Regions from separate parts of the Homo sapiens genome. Here regions 1 and 3 are each linked to region 2. The links are contacts of gene promoters, found by promoter capture Hi-C in human tissues and cell types (Jung and others, 2019). All regions are on one chromosome and are shown on one strand. Each heading gives the region's core, a stretch centred on a gene start or on the middle of the fragment in contact. The rest is flanking DNA. Distances are from core to core; before and after follow the strand shown. Region 1 overlaps SGSM1 (small G protein signaling modulator 1). Region 2 holds the start of SGSM1 (small G protein signaling modulator 1). Region 3 overlaps PIWIL3 (piwi like RNA-mediated gene silencing 3).

Evidence for each region. Contacts are between HindIII fragments. The study calls those that stand out against the background at their distance.
Region 1: a contact is called between a fragment that was not itself captured here and the fragment with the promoter of SGSM1 in region 2, in 2 of the 25 tissues and cell types used here (dorsolateral prefrontal cortex and liver).
Region 3: a contact is called between a fragment that was not itself captured here and the fragment with the promoter of SGSM1 in region 2, in 1 of the 25 tissues and cell types used here (liver).

What each region holds. Positions count from the first base shown.
Region 1 is chr22:24,851,659-24,855,163 of GRCh38, forward strand. SGSM1 (small G protein signaling modulator 1) reads left to right here. Exons shown (of 25, transcript NM_001098497.3): 6 at 3,338-3,405. Among named protein-coding and RNA genes, the nearest start is that of SGSM1, 47 kb to the left of the region's middle. The HindIII fragment of the contact is 6,903 bases long and covers 1-3,505 here.
Region 2 is chr22:24,803,864-24,807,460 of GRCh38, forward strand. SGSM1 (small G protein signaling modulator 1) reads left to right here and starts at 2,348. Exons shown (of 25, transcript NM_001098497.3): 1 at 2,348-2,481; 2 at 2,578-2,621. The coding sequence starts at 2,463. RefSeq lists a silencer at 2,186-2,395. The HindIII fragment of the contact is 18,100 bases long and covers 1-3,597 here.
Region 3 is chr22:24,750,914-24,754,284 of GRCh38, forward strand. It overlaps PIWIL3 (piwi like RNA-mediated gene silencing 3), which reads right to left. Exons shown (of 21, transcript NM_001255975.1): 8 at 3,101-3,304; 9 at 474-585. Among named protein-coding and RNA genes, the nearest start is that of PIWIL3, 22 kb to the right of the region's middle. The HindIII fragment of the contact is 4,992 bases long and covers 1-3,371 here.

The DNA of each region.
Region 1 (3,505 bases), core at 1,002-3,501, 48 kb after region 2:
CCAACAGTCATGCTGATAATACCTGATGGATGTTCCAAGGGGGCGTGGTGGCGTTGATAATTTTCTCCCAGTGGTCAGGGAAAGTGTCCTGGATGGCGCAACGGTTAAGCTTCCATTTGAAGAGCATGGAGGCATTAGCCAGGTGATGGGATGGGGAACAAAGTGTTTCTGGTGGAGGGAATAGCAGGTGCAGAGGCCTAGAGACAGGAAAGAAACTGCAAGAAATCCAAGCTCTGGATCTCCAGTTCCCTATTTACCTTCTAGTAATAACATGTCTCTGCCTCCTGCCCCATGAAGGTTTCTGGGCCTCTTTAATTATTGCCTTTGGCATATGACCTTGAGCATATGACCTGCTGATTAAGTTGGTCAAAGGGAATTAGTAATTTATTTGAGAAGCAATGTCAACCTGCTTTTTTTCCATTTCAACTTTTTATTTTTAATTTACATTTACATAGAAGTTGCAAAATTAGTACAGAGATTACTAATTGCCTAACCCCAATGATAACATTTTACATACCCATAGTGCAGTGATCAAAACCAGGAAATTGACATTGGTACAATACTATTAACTAACTGCAAAACTTTTTTGGATTTCATCAATTTTTATATTTACTGAATTTTTTTATACAGTTCTATGAAACTTTTAACGCATGTGTAGTTTCATATAACCCACATCACCATCAGGATACAGAATTATTCCGAAATAAACCTCATCACCCCAAAGAAACTCCCTTCAGCTACTTCTTACAGTCACACCTCGGTTCCAACTCTACCTGCTAATTTTTAAATTTATTTTTATTTTTGAGATGGAGTCTCACTCTGTTGCCCAGGTTGGAGTAGAATGGTGTAATCTTGACTCACTGCAACCTCTGCGTCCCGTGTTCAAGCGATTCTCATGCCTCAGCCTCCCAAGTAGCTGGTTTTACAGGCATGCACCACCACTCCTGGCTAATTTAGTATTTTTAGTAGAAACAGGGTTTCACCATATTGGGCAGACTGGTCTCGAACTCCTGGCCTCAGGTGATGCTCCCACCTTGGCCTCCCAAAGTGCTGGGATTACAAGCATGAGCCACTGTGCCTGGTCGTTTTTTATTTATTTTGAGACCCCTACTTGCTGATTTTTAAGGCAGCATGTTCAAAGTTTTTGATCGTATAATTCTGCTGATTTTTAGAAACTGGGTGATGGCAAAGTGAAAAGTGTTTTGATGTATTATCTTCAGATTTGACACCAAAATGTACAGCCTTGATATTGAATAAGTCCAGAGCATGTCAATTCTGGCTCATACGATATTCCAGTTGATGGAAGACTCTTGGGGGGTAAGATTACGATGATGTTGCCACCATTTTGTGAGAATTTCCTGATGTTGGGCTCTGTGCTGTGCTATGTAAGCAAGTTGTCATTTAATCCTTCCAACAATCCAGGCATTTGAGTTCTATACTTCCTCCCATTTTACAGCTGAGGACCAAAGCTCAGAGAGGGGTGTCACTTGCCCAGTGACACACAGCAAGGCAGGGAGAGGCAGAGCTGGGCTCCCACCCACTCTGTCTCACTCCAGATCCTGTGTCCTTTACTTCCTTCTGTATGTTGGCAAGAGCTGAGCCATGTGGGCTCAGCCCAAGCCTGTATCTGCCTGCTCTGTGGCCTCCAGCAAATAAATCGCTTACCCTCTGTGGGCCTGAGATCCCTTGGGAGGTCAGAACAAGGTTCTTTTCAATCCTGAAATTGTTTCTAGACTGTATGAGTTTTCAAGAAATTAGAAACCACTACACAATAACTCAAACAAACAAATCCAAAAACATTCAGCACAAACATTGTGTTGATGGTGTATTAGTTCGTTTTCATGCTGCTGATAAAGATATACCCAAAACTGGGAACAAAAAGACGTTTAATTGGACTTACAGTTCCACATGGCTGGGAAGGCCTCAGAATCATGGCAGGAGGCAAAAGGCACTTCTTTTTTTTTTTGAGATGGAGTCTTGCTCTGTTGCCTGGGCTGTAGTGCAGTGGCGCCATCTTGGCTCACTGCAAGCTCCGCCTCCCAGGTTCACGCCATTCTCCTGCCTCAGCCTCCCGAGTAGCTGGGACTACAGGCACCACCACGCCTGGTGAATTTTTTTTTTTTTTTTTTTTTGTATTTTTAGTAGGTATGGGGTTTCACCGTGTTAGCCAGGATGGTCTCGATCTCCTGACCTCATGATCCGCCCACCTTGGCCTCCCAAAGTGCTAGGATTACAGGTGTGAGCCACTGCGCCTGGCCAAAAGGCACTTCTTACATGGCGGCGGCAAGAGAAAAATGAGGAAGATGCAAAAGCAGAAACCCCTGATAAACCCATCATATCTCGTGAGACTTAGTCACTATCACAAGAATAGCATGGGAAATACCAGCCCCCATGATTCAATTACCTCCCCCTGGGTCCCTCCCACAATATGTGGGAATTCTGGGAGATACAATTCAAGTTGGGATTTGGGTGAGGACACAGCCAAACCATGTCAGATGGCATCACTTGCTATTTTTCAGAGCCAGATCCCAGGGGGCATTTTTGAGCATATTTGAGGCCAGTGCTCTCAATATTAGTTATCAAGGCAGGAAAGCCTGTTACACAGCCTTTCAGTACGCACTGCTGCTAAACAGCATTTGGTTGCCCCAGTAATAGAAGGGCAGACATCATCTGAGCCTCTAAGTCACTTCCTGTCTCAAATGGGAGATGTGGTAGAGGCAGATAGAGTCAGCCAGGCCTCCACAACCTGCTAATTATTATTCTTGTTACTATTATAAAGGCTCTATCATGACCATGTGTTAAGGAGGTACATGCTGAGCACCCCGCTAAATACCTTTAATTTTTGGTTCTCTCAAAAGTCCTTCCAGCAGGCTGGGCTTACAGGTGGCTTATGCCTGTAATCCCAGTGCTTTGGAGGCCAAGGTGGTGGGATCACTTGAGGCCAGGAATTCAAGACCAGCCTGGGCAACATAATGAGACCCTATATCTACCAAAAATTTAAAATTTGAAAATTAGCCAGTGGTGGCGCATGCCTCTAGCCCCAGCTAATTAGGAGGCTGAAGTGGAAGGATCACTTGAGCCCAGGAGTTCGAGGTTACAGTGCGCTTTGATTGTACCACTGCACTCCAGCCTGTGTGACAGAGAAAGACCTTATCTTAAAAAAAAGAAATCCTTTTTTCAGCCCTATGAGCTATATTATTATTATCCCCATTTTACAGATGGGGCAGCTGAGGCTCTGGGTGGTAACCGAGTGACACTGGGGATTGAACTCTCATCTGTGGATTGTGCGTCCTCTGCTGGTCTCCATCCAAACCTGCATATTCTCTCCTCTTGCTAGTAAATACTATGAGAAGGAAGCTCTCCTGATGGACCCTGTGGACGGCCCCATCCTTGCATCTTTGTTGGGTAAGTTGTCCTGTGTGCTGAGCTTCATCTAGACCCGTGGTCTTGAGTCTGAGGGGCACCTTCTCCAGGACTCTCTCACCCCTGTCCAGCCTTGCCCATG
Region 2 (3,597 bases), core at 1,098-3,597:
TGGCTTTGTCAATGACATAAGGCTCATAGGGTTAGCGTGGGGTGGAAGGAGGGTCAATAAGATCATGTGAGCAAAACCCAAAGCCCTTAGCGCAGTGCCTGCCACATAGTAGGTGCGCAATATATGATTATTTTTGCTGCCAAGCAACCATTTCCCATTCTCCTGGGGGACTTGCTGGAGATTGTGGAGCAGGGGTTTGTGATTGAGACACCTCTCCCCAAGCCAATGGGCAGGCTTGTGTCCCAGGTCAGGACAATCAGGCACTCCCTCCATAGGATGAAAACCTTAAACGAATGGCATTCTCTTTACCAGAGCAGCAGTGCCCTAACCACACTGTCCTTGCCAGGCAAATATTCCCAAGATTCCCCTTTCTGGCCTTCCAGAGCCACCTTGATTTCATCCCATTTCCCAGTTCTCCAGGCTCCCATGGGCTCTGGGATCACATATTATCTTCCCAGTTTATTTCCTTTTGCCTGAGGAAGCCAAAGTCAGCTTCTGTGGCTTACGGCCAGAGACCCCTGACACTGACCAATGGAAAAAAGGGGGCTCTGGATCCACTGCTGCACGGAGAGGCACTCTAAGCTGCCCTCTAGTCCTTCTGAAGGAAGGCCTGAATACTGGGGGACCCTAAAAGGCATTGCAAATCCTTAACATCACCATCAAAGTCATACAGGGTTTTGGCCCTGCACCTCTCTGGCCAACATCCCACCACCGTCCCCATTGTTCACACCACTCCAGCCCCACAGGCATCTGTGCTATTTGTCACTGTTTGACTGGACACACTCCCTCCTCAGGGACTTTGCATTTGCTGTTCCCTTGACTCAACTGCTCTTCCTCCAGAAATCCCCATGGCCTACTCCTTTTCCTCTTTGCTTAAATGTCACCTGCTCAGTGGGGCCTCCCTCAACCACCCTACTTCAGAATACGATCCCCAGGGGTCTGGGCCCTCCCTGTCCCCCTTGCCTACTTAATTTTTCTCCAGAACTTTCCAGCATGGTCTGTCCTTTTCTTACATATTTTGTTGTCCGCCTCCTAAACTCCATGAGGGCAGAGTTCATTGTCTGTCTTGCTCACTTAGAAATCTCTAGCACAGTCACTTGGCACAGAGTAGGTGCTCAATAAATATTGACCTGAGTTGCATTCTGGGTGGATACAGTTAGGGACTTGGGGTGACCAGGGGCTCTTGATGGAACAAGGCTTTTCCCACAGAGCCCACTGCTTGCTCAGCCCCAGAGATCCTGGCTGACAAGTGCCTCCTTTTGGGGCCAGACTCCTGGGAAAACCCCACTCCTCCAGTGACCTGCATGTCGGGGAGGGAGCCACTTAAGTCCCGGCCTCTCCTGAATGGATAACCAGTGTATCTTGGAAGACTCTTTTTTTTTTTTTTTTTTTTGAGATGGAGTTTCACTTTTGTTGCCCAGGCTGGAGTGTGGTGGCACAATCTTGGCTCACTGACACCTCTGCCTCCAGGGTTCAAGCAATTCTCATGCCTCAGCCTCCTGAGTAGCTGGGATTACAGGAGCACGCCACCATGCCTGGCTAATTTTTGTATTTGTATTTTTTTTATTTTTTGAGACGGAGTCTCACTCTGTCGCTCAGGCTGGAGTGCAATGGCGCCATGTTGGATCACTGTAACCTCTGCTTCCCGGGTTCAAGAGATTCTCCTGCCTTAGCCTCCCCAGTAGCTGGGATTACAGGCAGCTCGCCATCATGTCCGGCTAATTTTTGTATTTTCGTAGAGACGGGGTTTCACTATGTTGGCCAGGCTGGTCTCGAACTCCTGACCTCAAGTGATCTGCCCGCCTCGGCCTCCCAAAGTGTTGGGATTACAGGCGTGAGCCACCGCGACCGGCTGGAAGACCCTCAATAATAATAATTAATAATAATAACAGTAACAGTGGCAAGCATTTATGCTCGCTGGCCTTTCCCCCTGGGTCTGTATTAAGGGCTTCACATCCAATATCTCACTTAAGGCTCAGATCGTTCTGAGACCCATTATGCCCATTTTATACCACATTATACCCATTTTAAAGATGAGAAAACTGAGGCTTGGAGAATATCGGTAGTAGCCCCACCATTTCCTGTGACTTCCTGGAGCCTGGCCCACAGAGGAGGGTTCAGGACGGACGCTTTCCTTCCCCGCCCTAGGGAAGAGGGAGGGACGCGGGCGCTGGCGTGGAGGTTGGGGGAGCCTGAGAGGCTCGGGCGCTGGGTGCGCGGGAGGGAGCGTGCGTGCTTGGCGCGAAGGCTCCTGGCGCAGGCGACCCGGCTGCCCCGCCGAGCGGTGGCTTTCCGGAGGGGTGGGGCGGCCGCCTCGGGTCCTGACGTCGGGCGCCCTCCGGCCGTCACTCAGCGCTCGGCCCCGCCCCGCCGCGGCTGCAGCAGCAGCGCCGCGGCCGGAGGAGCTACCGCCGCCACCGCCGCCACCGCCTCCTGGGACTCGGAACGCAGCGCTCGGAGCCATGGCCTCGGCCCCCGCGGGTAAGAGGCCGCTGGACACGAGGGCGGCGGGAGGGCAGCGCCCGGCCCCCGCACCCTCTCTCGGCTGACCCGCGGCTCTCGTTTCTTGTCCCACAGAGGCGGAGACCCGACAGAGGCTGCTACGCACCGTCAAGAAGGAGGTGGGTGCCGGGGTGGGGGCACTGGGCAGGACTCCCCCGGCAGCAGCGGCCAAACGGGAAAAGAGTCTTCGTGGAAGGGTGGCCTCTGGCGGCGGGGGGGCGGCCAGAACAGGTGTGGGGCTCACCTGGGTGGGCATTGACCTCCCGCAGGGCAGGAGGCGCAGCGAGGGAGTTTGGGGGTGGGCGTAGGTGTGGGGAGGCTTTGGCCCATTTGAGGCTTTTTGCGGGGGCGGATGTAGCGTGAGGGCCCTCCAGGTGTGGGGCACACCTGGATGTATCCCGATAGGACCTCCTCTTGTGGAGGAGCAGGTGGGCGCGGCTCAGGAAGGGGACCTTCCAAGAGAGAGAAGCTGCTAGGGGGACGCCCCCCACAGGGTGTGCTGGAGGAGGGGCTCTGAATGGGGCTGCCGAAGGTGGGGCACGCTTCAGGAAAAGGCAGAAGGAAAATAAAACCTCCCTTCCCAGCCCCCGAATTCTCAGTCCTTGGAGCCACCTCCAAGAGCCAGGGGACTCCCTCCCTGAGAGTCACGGGTCAGTGAGCTGCTCCCCTGGCAGTAGGGGTCCCTTCACTCCCCCCGCCCCACTCCCACCCCACATTCAGAGGGTGAGAATCAGAGAGGTTCTGCCATTCCTCTGCCCCTCCACTCTCCTTGGGGTCAGCGCGTGGAGAGGGGGGCAGTCTAGTCTTTAGGGCTCATGGCCAATGACCTCCCAGAACCCCATAGACAGAATTTATAGTCCTTGGGGTAGCATCTCGATGCCTGGACTGCGTGCTCTGGTGTGTATACCTGCATGGGTGAGGACCTGTGGCTGTGAGTGTGTGCGTATGAGAATGTCTGTGCATCTGTCTGGAGATACCTAAGTGTATCTCTTTGCACTGTGTGTACACGTATCTATGTGTGTCTTTGTATCTGTTTTTGTGAGGGTGGGTCTGTGTGTGTATATTGTGTGGTGCATGAGTCTGTGAATGAGTGAT
Region 3 (3,371 bases), core at 207-2,706, 54 kb before region 2:
GGAAGCTCGAGGCCAGCCTGACCAATATGGTGAAACCCCGTCTCTACTAAAAATACAAAAATTAGCCAGGCGTGGTGGCAGGTGCCTGTAGTCCCAGCTACTTGGGAGGCTGAGGCAGGAAAATTGCTTGAACCTGAAAGGTAGAGGTTGCAATGAGTAGAGATCATGCCACTGCATTCCAGCCTGGGAGACGGAACGAGACTCCAACTCAAAAAAAAAAAAGTATGATAGTAGCCACTTTTAAGACTGAAAGAAGGGAAAGAAGGGATCACACTGGCACCATTCTAGTTATGTGACATTACCCTATATACAAGGCACGTGGATGCATGGATAATAGATAAGTCAAGCTATAATCCCCTAAAAGGAAAATATGTATGTTTATATGACAAATATGTTCAAGTAGCTAAATAACACAAACTGAAATACATGAAGGTTTACAATTTAAATATATTTAAAGAAATACAGTTTCATACCTGCCTGTAGTAGTCTATATAGGTGATTTTGCTGCCATCTGATTTGTTAAATGTGTCTTCAGGATTCTGCTTCCAATCAATATCATCTACTCTGTAGGTTTTGTTGTTGTATCTGTGGAATAATTACAATATGGTATTATTTGACTTATTCATCACATGGAACCATCCACACAGAAAATAGACATTTTTAATCCTGCAAGGAATTGCAGAATATATTAGATTTACTTAAGATGTAATTCACATACTGTACAACTCACCCATCTGAGCATACGATCACCTGGTTTTTACTACAGCCACAGAGTTGTGCAATCATCAAGACAAAGCAGCAGCATAACCATAGGCAGTCACTTCCCATTTTAGCCTAATCCACCAGCCTTCAGGCAGCCACTAGCCTACTTCGTGTCTCAACACATTTGCTCATTCATTTCACGTAAACTGAGTCATGCAACGTGTGCTCTTTCCCGACTGGCTTCTTTCACTTAGCATCATGTTTAAGGTTCATCCATGCTGTAGTAAGTCTTGGCACTTAATTCTTTTCATTTCCAAATAATATTCTATTGTATGATATCCCACCTTTTGTTTATCCATTCACCAGCTGGACATTATGGTTGTATATACTTTTGGTTACCATGAATAAGGTTATGAACATTTATGTGCCGATTTTAATAAATATGTTCTCATTTCTCTTGTGTATTTAAGTAGGAGTAAAATTTCTGGTTCATATGGTGATGATATAGGAGTTAAAATGGAATTTAGGTGGTTAGTAAGGGTAAAAGTTCTCGGTGGAATTTTCTCTTAATAAAAAAGCAGCCTCCAAATCATTTTTCTAACAAAAAGCAGCCTGAAAAAATCAAGCTGCAAACATAGATAAGCAAGCTGGAAGCTTACATAGTTGGATGCTGGCAGTTATGCCAGAAGCCAGTATATCCAACATGGAGGTTCTCTTCCCTTCTCCTTGTCCCTGCCATGTGTGCAGGTGTTATGGTGCCCGCCCACCAGATGGAGATCACATCTGCATAATGAAAGATTAGGGTGGGATGGCCAGCCTCTTCGCAGGCTATGTAAATGGCACACCTGGTCCAACCAATCCTCTGGGCCCTACGTAAATCAGACACCACCTCCTCAAGCCCCTCTATAAAACCAACTGCATCCCTCTGCAAAGCAGGAGATTCATTCGGAATGCCCCTCCCCCTGCAAGGGGGCACTTTTCTCTTCTTTCACCTATTCAGCTTTCCGCTCCTAAACCCACACTTTGTGGGTCTATGTCTTTGTTTTCCTTAGTGTGAGACAAACCTCATATATTTCCTCAAACGAGGCCACTTCAGTAATGCATATCGTTAGCATTTTAAGAAAGTGCCAGACTGTTTTACAAAGAAGCCATACCATTTAATATTCCTACAAGCAGCATACGAGAGAGTTGCTTCTGATCTTTCCACATCCTTGCCAACACTTGTCAATATCTAATTTTAACCATCCTAGTGGGTGTGAAATGATATCTCATTGTGGTTTTCACTTGCATTTCCATGATGGCTACTGATGTTAAACGTTTTCACGCATCTATTGATCATTTGTACATTTTAAGAAATATATCTGGAGAAGTATCTAATCAGATCTTTTGTCCATTTTAAAAATTATGTTGTCTCTCAAGTATTGTTTGTATATTCTAGATACAGGTTACTTATGTGATTTGCAAACATTTTCCCCAGTTTTTCCAGTTGTGTTTTCACAATTTTGATAGTATAGTTTGAATAAGTTTTTAATTTGGTGAAGCCCAATGTATCTATGTTTCTTTTGTTATCACTTCTGCTTTGAGTGGCTTATCTAAGGTTTCCCTAGCTCAAAGTCAAAAAGATTCAGTCCTATATTTTCTAAGAATGTTATGCTTTTAGTTCTTACATCTAGGTCTATTGAGTTGGTTTTTGAGTTAAACTGGAATTGTGTGAATTGCATGAGGAAGAAGCAGGTGGATGTTCAGTTGTCCCAGCAACATTATTGAAAAGACTATTCTTTCCCCTATTGAATTGCCTTGACACACTTGTCAGAAGTCAGCTGACGAAGTGGAGGGTTAACCTTCTGTACTCTATTTCATTGGTCTCTGTCTGTCTTTAGACCAACATCACACTGTCTTGATTACCAGAACTTTCTGGTAAGTTTTAAAATTGAGAAGTGTGAGTCCTCAAATTGTGTCCCTGTAAGGTTGTGTTGGCTAAGTAACTGGTTCTTTAAATCCATTCTCTTACCAATTTAAGGTTTCTGCTGTAGAAAGATTTTAAAACTTCCTTCAAATGGGAAATTGCTGATGGGTTATAACTAAGCACTGATTTTTAAACCAGCTAAATGCCCACAAAAGAGCAAAAGGAAAGAAATTCAGAAACAGCTTAGTGTTATGTGCAAGGTAGGGTTCAGAACAAATGGACTGGCATTAGGGATTTCAAGAAGAGTGAAGTCTACAATTGACACATTCTTCTCCCAAGTTGTATAACCAGAGGAGAGACGTGTTCAGTTGTTCTTGCAATTTCTACTCCTCAACTTCAACATTTAGTGATTAGAAAACTATAGGACCATCTCTTGGGGTGGGGGAAGGGGGAGTTAAAGTGATTGGATAGGTTTTTAAAAGACAGACTTACTTTGTCAGAACAATTGATCCAATTAATTTATTAGTTACTTCCTCTCGGATGTTTCCTGTCTGGGCCTGGGCAGATGTTCTCTTTATGAAATCATAAGCAGTTTCTATTCGGAGCAGTTTGTGGCTCACATCGGCACAGAGGGTAATGCTGTTTTCGTATTGAAGAACAGAAGTAACATAACCAAGCCAGATTTCCAAACTGGTACTAGAATAAATTACATGAGAGTATTAGTCCGATCTCTTCACATAAAGCCAAGGGTTTCCAAGCCTAA